4 separate regions of the Homo sapiens genome follow, and regions 2, 3 and 4 are each linked to region 1. Evidence: promoter capture Hi-C in 16 types of primary human blood cells and fetal thymus (Javierre and others, 2016). All regions are on one chromosome and are shown on one strand. The core of a region is centred on a gene start or on the middle of the fragment in contact, and the rest is flanking DNA. Distances in the headings are between cores, read along the strand shown.

Region 1 (2,572 bases), core at 24-2,523:
CGAGATGGATAGGGAATTACTTTTTCCTTTACTTCCTTTACTAAATCCCTTTGTCTCCAAATCTATCAAGCAATAGTTTCTTTATCTGCAAACTGTGGATTATGTTACCTGTCTTGTCTGCTTTAGAAGGGAAACAAAAATTATGTAGAAATTAATAGGAATACTATTGAAACAGGAAAGGGACAACTTGCAAGGTTTGAAGCAATCACATGTTGAGTACTCAGTCAAGGCTTTCTTTTTTTTTTTAAATCAAAATGTTGATTGGGATATTTTATGGGTAGCAGGCTTGGATCCCAGCACTTTTCCAATAGGGGAACAGAAGCACCTTGTACCGCCCCAGAGTTTCCCTTCCCCCACACAATAACCCTAAAGCAAAAGCTATTATTATTATCATCGCCATGTGACAGAGGAAAACTTGAGATTGGGGGCTTAACTGACATTACATCAAGTCTCAAAAAGAAACAGTGGCAGTTTGAGACTTTGATCTACGACTCTTTTAAGAGTTTAGATTGCGTCCACAGCGAAACCTGCACAAACAGTTGTCAACAGCGGCTGCAAATTACAGGCTTATGAGGAACGTTTGAAAAATGCCAAGAGTTCTTTCCTCAGGCCAAATACTATGGTAGATAAAAGTATAGCCTTTGGAGCCAGAATCCCTGAGTTTGAATCTTGCCTGTGCCACTTGGTAGCTGTGTGACTCTGGCTGCGTACTTAACGGCTCTGTCTCAGTTTTTCTGTTGGTAAAATGAGGATAATAACACCTTCTTTGTAGGGTTGTTCTAAGGATTAAATGAGTTAATAGGAGTGAGCCACTTAGAATAGGGCCTGTTATATGGTAATCTCTATTTAAAATCCTGTCAGATACACCAAAGAAAACACTTTAAAAATATCTGTTAAATAAATCAGTAAAACAGAATCGGGGCATTGGTTCTTTAAAAGTACTCCCCCACGGTATTCTAGTATGCAGCTTGGGTTTTAATATCTGAATGTGGCGCCTTTTGGGATCTCGCCTCGCGAGAAATTGACATTAACGAATGAGTGAAAGGAGCTTCCCCCCCCCCCCCCCTCCAGGAAGATATAGACCCTGCAAACTTGTTAGCAGGACCTTGCGGACACCAAGGAGGCGGAGGCGTTTTCCCCATTTCCCCTTCGGGAGTTGTAGTTTCCTGCAAGCGCTTGGTGGGTCTGTAAACCAGCGGGGAACTACAACTCCCACAATCTCGCGCGCCTCCCGCCCTGCCTCCCGCCCGCGTTTCTAGCCCGACTCCCATTACCGCCCCTCGGGGGCGGCTGTGGCGGAGGAACGATGGCCGACGGCGGCGGCCCTAAGGACGCGCCAAGCCTGCGGAGCTCTCCCGGGCCGGCGCCGCGGGTCCCGCGCGCGGTCGGGCCGAGTGGCGGTGGCGGGGAGACCCCGCGGACCGCGGCGCTGGCGCTGCGCTTCGACAAGCCCATTAAGCAGGCCTTCTACAACACCGGGGCCGTGCTGTTCGTGTGCCTGTGCTGCGGCGCCGCGGTGCTGGTCTACTTCATCCTGGAGGCCTTCCTGCGGCCGCTGCTCTGGGCCGTGCTATGCGGCACTTTTCTGCACCCCTTCAAGAGCTCGCTGACGCGCCTGGGCCGCCACTGGCTGCAGCGCCTGCACCGCGCGCACACGCCCATCGTCCTGGCCGCGCTGCTCCTGCCGCTCTGCTTCGTCGACTACGGCGTCGAGGCCCTGGGCGAGCAGGCGCTGCGCCGCCGCCGCCTGCTCCTGCTGCTCGGCGCCGGCGGCCCGCTCCTGTACGGCCTCTACTGCCTCGGCAGCTACTTGGGCGTGCAGGTGCTGCTGGTGCACGCTGCCACGCTCATCTGCCGCGGGCTGGACTACTTCAGCAGCCTGTGGGTGAGTGAGCGGCAGTCCGCCCCCGTCCCCCGCCCGTGGTCCCGGCGCTCTGGGGTGCAATCCTGCAGCTGTTCCTCCCGGTGCAGGGGCGACGAGGGGCCACACCTGTGCTGCAGTGACCGTCCGTCTCCGCTTTCCTTCTCACACCTCAGGAATTTGGCGGACATTCTTCCAAAAAGGGGGCGGGCGTGATTTGAAACAGCCTCCCTGCTTTTCGCCTTGTTTCAATCCTAATAGGCCCTCTTAGGGGGACAGTGCCCTGGATTGAGAATCGTTATTTCGCTTTGCAGAGAGAGGCCTCAGAGCATGGCAGTGGGGCTTGGTTTTACTTCTGGTTGGAGAGGGCGGGGGTGCTTCGGCCACCCTCAGTTCTGCGCATCTGAATGTCAGAGCTGGAAGGGACCTTAGAGATTCTAGGCCAACTTGCCATCCTGCAGATAGGAAAGGTGACCTCTTACCAGGCTAGGGCTACTTAGGGACAAAGAGGGGTTTGGGTGTCTTAGATTTCTTACAAGTCCTAAAACAAAGCTTGCTTCACTGGCTGGTGCTGCCTCTCAGTTCAGGTGATTCCTGTATAATTTGTGCAAGGCACTGGGTGCTGAGCTGCCTGTGCTTCTTCCTCTCCACGCTTTACTTTTAGGTAACTGCTTTTGTTGTGCAGGGACTGGTGTACCACAGCACACCTCC
Region 2 (2,572 bases), core at 51-2,550, about 25 Mb after region 1:
TTCTGATTGTCCAGACTGGATTGGGATCCCCTGTTGGATTTCTCACAGTAGCCTGTTTTTGATAAGAATTCATCACAACTAAAAATTGTATATTTATGTGATTCCTTCTCTTTAGAGAGGGGCTGTGATTGTTCACCATTGTGTTACCAGAGCCTAGGGCTCAATAAATTATTTACAGATGAATCTAGTCCATTATGTACAATAATACATATTCAGTAATAACTACTTATTGTTGAACCTTTACTGAGTGTAGTATGTACATAATCTGGTAGCTCCCAGTCCTTTTGTGGAAGCTTCCTCTTAAGCTGTTCCCCCCAGGTCACCACTCTCCAGGCACAACTCTTGACTGCTTCATGATGTTCACTCTTGCTTCTCTGCCTGGAACATTACTCTTCTAGAACCACCTTTCTTAGCTGGAGATTCTCATCTGAACCACAGAGCACAGAAAGTGATATGAATAGCTATCCATTTCTTTTCAAAGATGGTTCATAATGAATATAATTTTAGATGTATAGGAGAGAAGTTAATTCATTACATAGTGAGTGGTTTGTTGGTAAATGCTGGTTTATCAACCCGTTCTTCAGGAAAAACACTGATTTGTAGTGTTTGCTGGATTTCCATGATGTAAATATTCTCACTGTGGCAGATTTCAAGATACCGTTATTAAACTGGCTCACAAAATTTATGAAAATTTAAGAGCCATTGCTTATAATGGGTGCCTTAGGGCAGAGGCCAGCAAACTGGTAGTCGAAATCTATTGTGCCCATTTGCTTATGTGTTATCTATAGCTCCTTTCAGAATAGACCATGTGGCTGGTAGAGCCAAAAATATTTACTGTCTAGCCCGTAACAGAAAGTTTGCTTACCCTGGTATTAGGGCTTCCTGTTAATATATCTTGTTCATCAAAACACTTCTCATTGGAAATTTTTACCATGACTTATTTTTTATAGAAATACAATGTGAGCTGGGCTCAGTGGTTCATGCTTGTAATCCCAACACTTTGCGGGGCCAAGGTGGCAGGATTGCTTGAGCACCATGGCTCAGTGATCATGGCTCACTGCAGCCCCCACCTCCTGGAGTTCGAGACCAGCCTGTCTACAAAAAAATAAAAATTTAGCTAGGTGTGGTGGCACACACCTGTAGTCCCAGCTAGTCCAGCAAGGTTGAGCCCAGGAGTTTGGAGGTTACACTGAGCTATGATTGCACCGCAGCATTCCAGCTGTGGTGACAGAATGAGACTTGGTCTCTTAAAAACAAAAAACAGTATGAGCCACATATGTAATTTTCCTATTAGCCACTTTAATCAAAAGGAAGGACTGAAGTCAATTTTTCAATAGTGGTGACTCACACATAACAAAATTTATCATGTTAACCATTTTTAAGGGTTCACTTCAGTGACATTAAGTACATTCACATTGTTGTACAATTGTTACCACCATCCGTTTCCAGAACTCATCTTGCAAAACTGAAACCCTGGACCGTTTAAACAGTAACTCCCCATTTTCCCCATTCCCCCACCTCTAGCAACCACCATTCTTCTTTCTGTCTCTGAATTTGACTACTCTAGGTATTTCATATAAGTGGAATAAGACAGTGTTTGGCCTTTTGTGATTAACTTATTTCCCTTAGTATAACGTCCACAAGGTTCATTTATGTTGTAGCATGTGTCAGAATTTACTTTTTTTTTTTTTTTTGAGACAGGTCTCACTTTGTCACCCAGGCTGGAGTGCAGTGGCACAATCATGGCTTGCTGCAGCCTCCACCTCCTGAAGTTCAAGTGATCCTCCTGCCTTAGCCCCCCAAGTAGCTGGGACTGCAAGCTCACATCACCATGCTTGGCTACTTTGTATTTTTTTGTAGAGACAGGGTTTCACCATGTTGCCCAGGTTGGTCTCAAACTCCTGAGCTCAAGCGATCTGCCCCCTTGGTCTCCCAAAATGCTAGGATTATACAAGTGTGAGCCACCGCACCCAGCCAGAATTTACTGTGTATGACTGAATAATATTCCATTATATGTATGTACCACATTTTAAAAATCCATTGATCTGTTGCTGGTCGCTTGGGTTGCTTCCACCTTTTGGCTATTGTAATTTTAATATGCTTTATTTAACCCAGTATGTCTAAAATATTTTAAGGTGCAATTGATATAAAGACTATAAAATATCTTGCATTTTGAAATACTAAGTCTTTGAAATATATTTTGTAATTTACACTTAAGCATACCTCAGTTTGAAGTAGCCACATTTCAGGTGCTTAATAGCCATATGTAGCTAGTGACTGCTGAATTAGCACAGCTAATAAAGCTTTCAGGATGTGCTTCCACCTGCCTTTTCTCCTGTTTTCATTGCATTTCAGCCAGTTTGTATTGTCTCTTCCCCTACCCTCAAATATCACTGGCTCTTTCTTCCCCTTTTTGAACCTTTGCAAATGCTGTTAATGACAATGACATAATGGCCAATATTTATTGCAGGCATGATTTATAAGGCATGATGCATTATATTTTTTTAAAATGTCACATAACTTTATGATGAAAGCACTATTATTATCCTTTTTTTAAAAAATGAAGATGCTG
Region 3 (2,572 bases), core at 49-2,548, about 25 Mb after region 1:
TATAAGTGCATCTCTTGTTGGACATAGGCAAAATAACTTGGCAAACTTAGTTCTGGTGATTTCTTGATGGTTTGGAAGTCTATTGCTGGGAAGAAATTCCATCATACATATTCATGCTTATAATAAGCTGGGGATTTTTTGTTTGTTTTTGCAAATGCTTGCCCCTACTTTTCAACAATTTTCTATGTTAGTTGTGAAGAACTAAGGTGGGGAGCAGTACTACAAGTTGAGTAATGGTATGAGTATATACCAGAATTCTGATTGGCAGCAAGTTTTATTAATCAGAATAACACTTGGTTATGGAAGTGACTAATGCTGAAAAAATTGATTATTTTTATTAGATAATTTCTCACCTATAGACTTAAACTGTCAATTTGCTCTAGTGTCTTATTAGTTAAACTTTGTAAAATATATATATACTTGTTTTTCCATTGTATGCAAATTGAAAGAAAAAGATGTACCATTTCTCTGTTGTATGTTGGATTATGTAGGAAATGTTTGTGTACAATTCAAAAAAAAAAAAGATGAAAAAAGTTCCTGTGGATGTTTTGTGTAGTATCTTGGCATTTGTATTGATAGTTAAAATTCACTTCCAAATAAATAAAACACCCATGATGCTAGATTTGATGTGTGCCCGATTTGAACAAGGGTTGATTGACACCTGTAAAATTTGTTGAAACGTTCCTCTTAAAAGGAAATATAGTAATCTTATGTATTTTTTTGTGTGAAGTGTTTTTCTAGCATTTATAAGTGAAAGCTGGCAGGGGTGGTAGTTGGGCTCATAATTAACGTGGTAATTTAGCAAAATGAGAGCCTAGTCATCCAATTTTTTTTTTCTTATAGTCAGCCAGAGCTTTCCTCATTACCTATGAGAAATTTTGAGTGAGTTACTTGGTTCCTTTCTCTAAAATAGCTTTAGTTTGATGTTTGAGAATATCGGAGATAATGTAAAATAACTGCAGAGTATGGTTCCCGGCTCATATTTCTGAAGTACTACTTATTAACCTCCAGCTGTCCAGAAAGCTTGAAAACTGTTTTTGTTTTGTTTTGTTTTGTTTTTTGAGACAGTGTCTTGCTGTTTTTCCCAGGCTGGAGTGCAGTGGCATAATCTTGGCTCACTGCAACCTCCATCTTCTGGGCACAAGCAATCTTCCTGCCTCAAAACAGATGAACAACTATATAGGAAAGGAGTCATGAATGTAATTATTGAATTTAGGTCAGAGGCTTGTGTATAATAAAAGTAACAGTTGGGCAGTTCTAGAATTCATGTAAGTATTAATAGTATGAACAGAATAATGTCTTTTAAGGGAAGTAGAGTTGAGTGACATTTAGTTTGGGGAGGGACGTAGAGTGATCTTTTGATTAATGAAGAACATGAAGTAAATGTCAAAATATTACTTAAAACTAGTGAATGCTACCTGTGGTATGGTTTCCCCAGTGTGGTTGAGTTGGGGTTGCTCAGGGTGAAATGAGCCCTTACCCCTAAAGAAAAATGACAAGGACACTTTAGTCAAATTGTTAATCCTACTGAAGGAAAGCATCCCTGGAGAGAACACTGGCTTCCAAAGCTTTTATCTGTTACCTGTAAATGAGTTATGTAACACATGGACCATTAGCTGCAAATGTTTTCACTTTTGCATTTTACAATAATTTCAGACCTTAAACACATCATTCTACTGAAGACTTAATGGATTGAAGAATATCTGGTATTGATATCTTTGATATACAGCTTTGGGAGGGAGAGGGGCCTTTTGCATTGCCACTGCTATTGATTGGTAAATGGTATTTAAAATTTGGGTGAGAATTGGGACAGGTTGGGAGAATTTTCACAAAGGGTGGGAGAAGTGAACATAAGCTCTTTAATTAAATGGAATATTGAGACAATTTTGTAAGAAGTTACTGGTGTATAATGCTGACTTAGTTTCAAAAATTTAGCCTAACTTTTTGTAAGTTAATTACCAAAATGCCAACAGACAGAAACCAAGTTGTACTAGTTATCTCAAGAATTTAAAACCTTTCCCTACTATTCAAATTTTGTTTGCCTTTGTTTTATTGTACTGAGACATATAATGTAAAATACTAAATCTGATCTAATAGCAAAGAAAATCAAACCAAACAGCAAAATTTCCTTTTAAAAAACCCTTTCATTAGTTTTAAGGTTTTTTAGTACTCAATTACTACCGTTCCACGTGAATTAGGTAATGAATTGCTTCAGATTGCTGTGATTCGAAGTAAATTTAATTAGCCTCGGTGCAGTGGCTCACACGTGTAACCCCAGCATTTTGGGGGCCAAGGTGGACAGATGGCTTGAGCCCAAGAGTTTGAGACAGCCTGGGCAATATGGTGAAACCCCATCTCTACAAAAAATTAGCCAAGCATGGTGGCGCGTACCTGTAGTCCCAGTTAGGAGGCTTGAGGTGGGAGGATCGCCTGAGCCCGGGAAGTGGAGGCTGCAGTGAACCTTGATGGCACTACTGCACTACAGCCTGGGTGACAGACCCTGTCTCAATCCAGTAAGTTTTTATGTTAAAGAGAACCAAAAAAAGGAGAAGAATTTTTGTTTTTAAAAAGA
Region 4 (2,572 bases), core at 51-2,550, about 23 Mb after region 1:
TCCTGCCGAGGTCACGGCCGCGGCGCGCAAAGCGTTACTTGCCGGTGTCCTGGGTGATTGAGGCCTTTGAAACTCCCTCTGTGCCTCTAGCAAGCCTAGGCTCTTAGGACAAAAGATGATTTCCCAGAGTGAGTTTACAGCCTTTTCTGGGTGAAAGGTCAAACACTCAGAGGGCACCAGAGTGCAACCATTGATTACTTAGAGAATTCACTGAGCTCAGTGTTCCGGCCGCACCGTTCAGTTTTTTAGTGGAAGGAAAATCCACATAACATAAAATTAGTCCTTTTAAAGGGTACAATTCAGTGCCATTTAAGACATTCACAGTGTCGTGCAACCATCACCTCTATCTAGTTCCAAAATACTTTCACCCCAAAAGAAAAATTTATGATCACGTTCCTACATACACTCCCCTTTTAGTGAAGGAGACGACTTTATGCAACCATTCGCTTAGAGACTGGGAAAAAAAACGATTTAAATTGACTCATCGATTCTGTTGCATCTAATGCCAAAAGGGCCTATTACCAGAAAATAAGTTTGTAGCAAAGTAGAAGAAAATTGTGATCAGGTGAGAGAATTTATTTTTATAATCAATTTTTTAGGCCTTTGATATTACCCTGATTATATATGGTACTACTAGTGTACTGATTATGTATCATTCTATATTACCTCTTTTCTGTAGGAGCAAGCTTATTTTCATACACCGTGGGATGTAGAATTAAACAAGGTTTTAAGAACTAGAGGGCACAACTCATTCTTTGTGTCTCTTTCAATCTCAGTAAGAATTATTCAGAATTCTTCCACTGGTAATGGTAGATCCAGGAAGAGCCAGAAGGTTCAGGAACAGTTTTTGCCTTTTCTTTTTTGCTTTTTAGCAACCCTATTAACTGGGTTTTTTGTTTTTTGTTTTTTGTTTGTTTGTTTGTTTTTGTTTGTTTTGTTTTTGGAGACAGGGTCTCACTCTATCTCCCAGGCTGTAGTTCAGTGGTGCAATCATGGCACACTGCAGCGTCAACCTCCTGGGCCCAAGCGATCCTCCCACCTCAGGCTCCCAAGTCGCTGGGACCACCGGTGTGCACCGTCATGCATGCACCTAGGGTCTCCCTGGGTTGCCCAGGCTGGTCTCGAACTCCTGGGCTCAAGCAGTCCACTGCCTCAGGCTCCCAGTGTGCAGGGATTACAGGTGTGAGCCACCATGCCTGGTCCCTGATGTCTTTCTCCATCACCATTTGACATGTTACCTCTTCCTTCAGAATTTCTTTTTTTTTTTTTTTTTTTTGAGACAGGGTTTCGCTGGGTTGCCCAGGCTGGAGTGCAGTGGCGTGATCTCAGCTCACTGCAGCCTCTGCCTACTGAGTTCAAGCAACTCTCTGCCTCAGCCTCCTGAGTAGCTGGGATTACAGACGCCCACCACCATGCCCAGCTTATTTATTTATTTATTTTTGTATTTTTAGTAGAGATGGGGTTTCACCATCTTCACCAGGCTGGTCTTGGACTCCTGACCTCGTGATCCACTCGTCTCAGCCTCCCAAAGTGCTGGGATCACAGGCATGAGCCACCGTGCCTTGCCCTTCCTTCAGAATTTCTATGTCAGTCCCTTTCTCTCCATTCCTAGTCATTCAGCAGACATTTATCAAGATCTGCTGTGTTTCAAGACAAATGAATGAGTTATACAGTTCCCAGCCTACGGGGCACAGTCGCAGGCCAAGCCTTTGCCACCTCTTACTAGGAGTAATAGCACTGCACATTCTCAGGCTTGGTCTCTCTCCACACTTGCTCCCCTCTGCTTCAGTACATGTTATCATAGCAGTTCTCAAGGTATCCATGTTGCCTGACTCAGCTGTTTTGATTAACTTGCAGGAGTCTACTGTCTGTACTCTGTTGTCCTACTTAAGTATGGCTGACTTTAGAAGCTTCTCAGAAGCTGTACCAGAGAGAAGGCACATCAATGCTGTTTTCCACACAGCCTGTGTTGGTGGGCTTGCAGTCATTTTAGTTCCAGCATTCGTGCCCTAGTCAGGACACTATGGCATGTATTGCTCTTTGTGCTTAGTTTATCATCAGCATGTATCGTCAAGTGCAAAAGTAGTGATGCCGTCAAAGGCCTAATGAATGGAGACAGATAAGAGAGCAAACAAAAGTATACGTAATTCAGTAAAACTGATTGGAAGAGGTAAATGTTACTTGGGTCTAATAAGTAGAGACAGATAAGAGCAAACACAAGTATACCTAATTCAGTAAAACTGATTGGAAGGGATAAATGTTACCTGGATATATAAATTTTGATGTTAGGAATTTGACATGTTGCAACATTTGAAAAGTGCTATATGTGTGGAGTCTACCAGATGTCAACAAAAGGCTAGGAAAAGTAACTGATAATATAACACAGTTCAATGCTGTCATTATCAGATTATCTACATCTTCCCTATTTCCCTACATATCTAGAAATTGACAAGTGGAATTGAACTTGCAGGAGCCAGATGTGATTAAAGAATCTGAAGAGTAAATAGTGCCCTGCTTGCAGACAGATTTATTTCCATCATTGTACAAGTCAGAGCAACTCTAATTTGTAGGA

Evidence for each region. The method cuts DNA at HindIII sites, captures the fragments that hold promoters and counts their contacts. A CHiCAGO score of 5 or more calls a contact.
Region 2: a fragment that was not itself captured here is called in contact with the fragment with the promoter of TMEM245 in region 1 in 1 of 17 cell types (naive CD8 T cells); the score reaches 5.0 in naive CD8 T cells.
Region 3: a contact is called between a fragment that was not itself captured here and the fragment with the promoter of TMEM245 in region 1, in 2 of 17 cell types (total CD4 T cells and activated CD4 T cells). The highest score is 5.7, in total CD4 T cells.
Region 4: a fragment that was not itself captured here is called in contact with the fragment with the promoter of TMEM245 in region 1 in 4 of 17 cell types (naive CD8 T cells, non-activated CD4 T cells, activated CD4 T cells and 1 more); the score reaches 10.9 in naive CD8 T cells.

What each region holds. Positions count from the first base shown.
Region 1 is chr9:109,118,648-109,121,219 of GRCh38, reverse strand. It overlaps TMEM245 (transmembrane protein 245), which reads left to right and starts at 1,273. Exons shown (of 18, transcript NM_032012.4): 1 at 1,273-1,885. The coding sequence starts at 1,307. RefSeq lists silencers at 1,124-1,173, 1,314-1,483, 1,834-1,943 and an enhancer at 1,594-1,643. The HindIII fragment of the contact is 5,277 bases long and covers 1-2,415 here.
Region 2 is chr9:83,698,035-83,700,606 of GRCh38, reverse strand. The region is part of intron 1 of UBQLN1 (ubiquilin 1); the gene reads left to right. Among named protein-coding and RNA genes, the nearest start is that of UBQLN1-AS1, 8.5 kb to the left of the region's middle. The HindIII fragment of the contact is 2,010 bases long and covers 296-2,305 here.
Region 3 is chr9:83,966,226-83,968,797 of GRCh38, reverse strand. HNRNPK (heterogeneous nuclear ribonucleoprotein K) reads left to right here. Exons shown (of 17, transcript NM_031263.4): 17 at 1-715. Among named protein-coding and RNA genes, the nearest start is that of MIR7-1, 2.3 kb to the left of the region's middle. The HindIII fragment of the contact is 545 bases long and covers 1,026-1,570 here.
Region 4 is chr9:86,279,299-86,281,870 of GRCh38, reverse strand. The region is part of intron 1 of ISCA1 (iron-sulfur cluster assembly 1); the gene reads left to right. LOC124902194 (a long non-coding RNA gene) reads left to right here. Exons shown (of 2, transcript XR_007061634.1): 2 at 418-2,572. Among named protein-coding and RNA genes, the nearest start is that of ISCA1, 2.0 kb to the left of the region's middle. The HindIII fragment of the contact is 1,224 bases long and covers 689-1,912 here.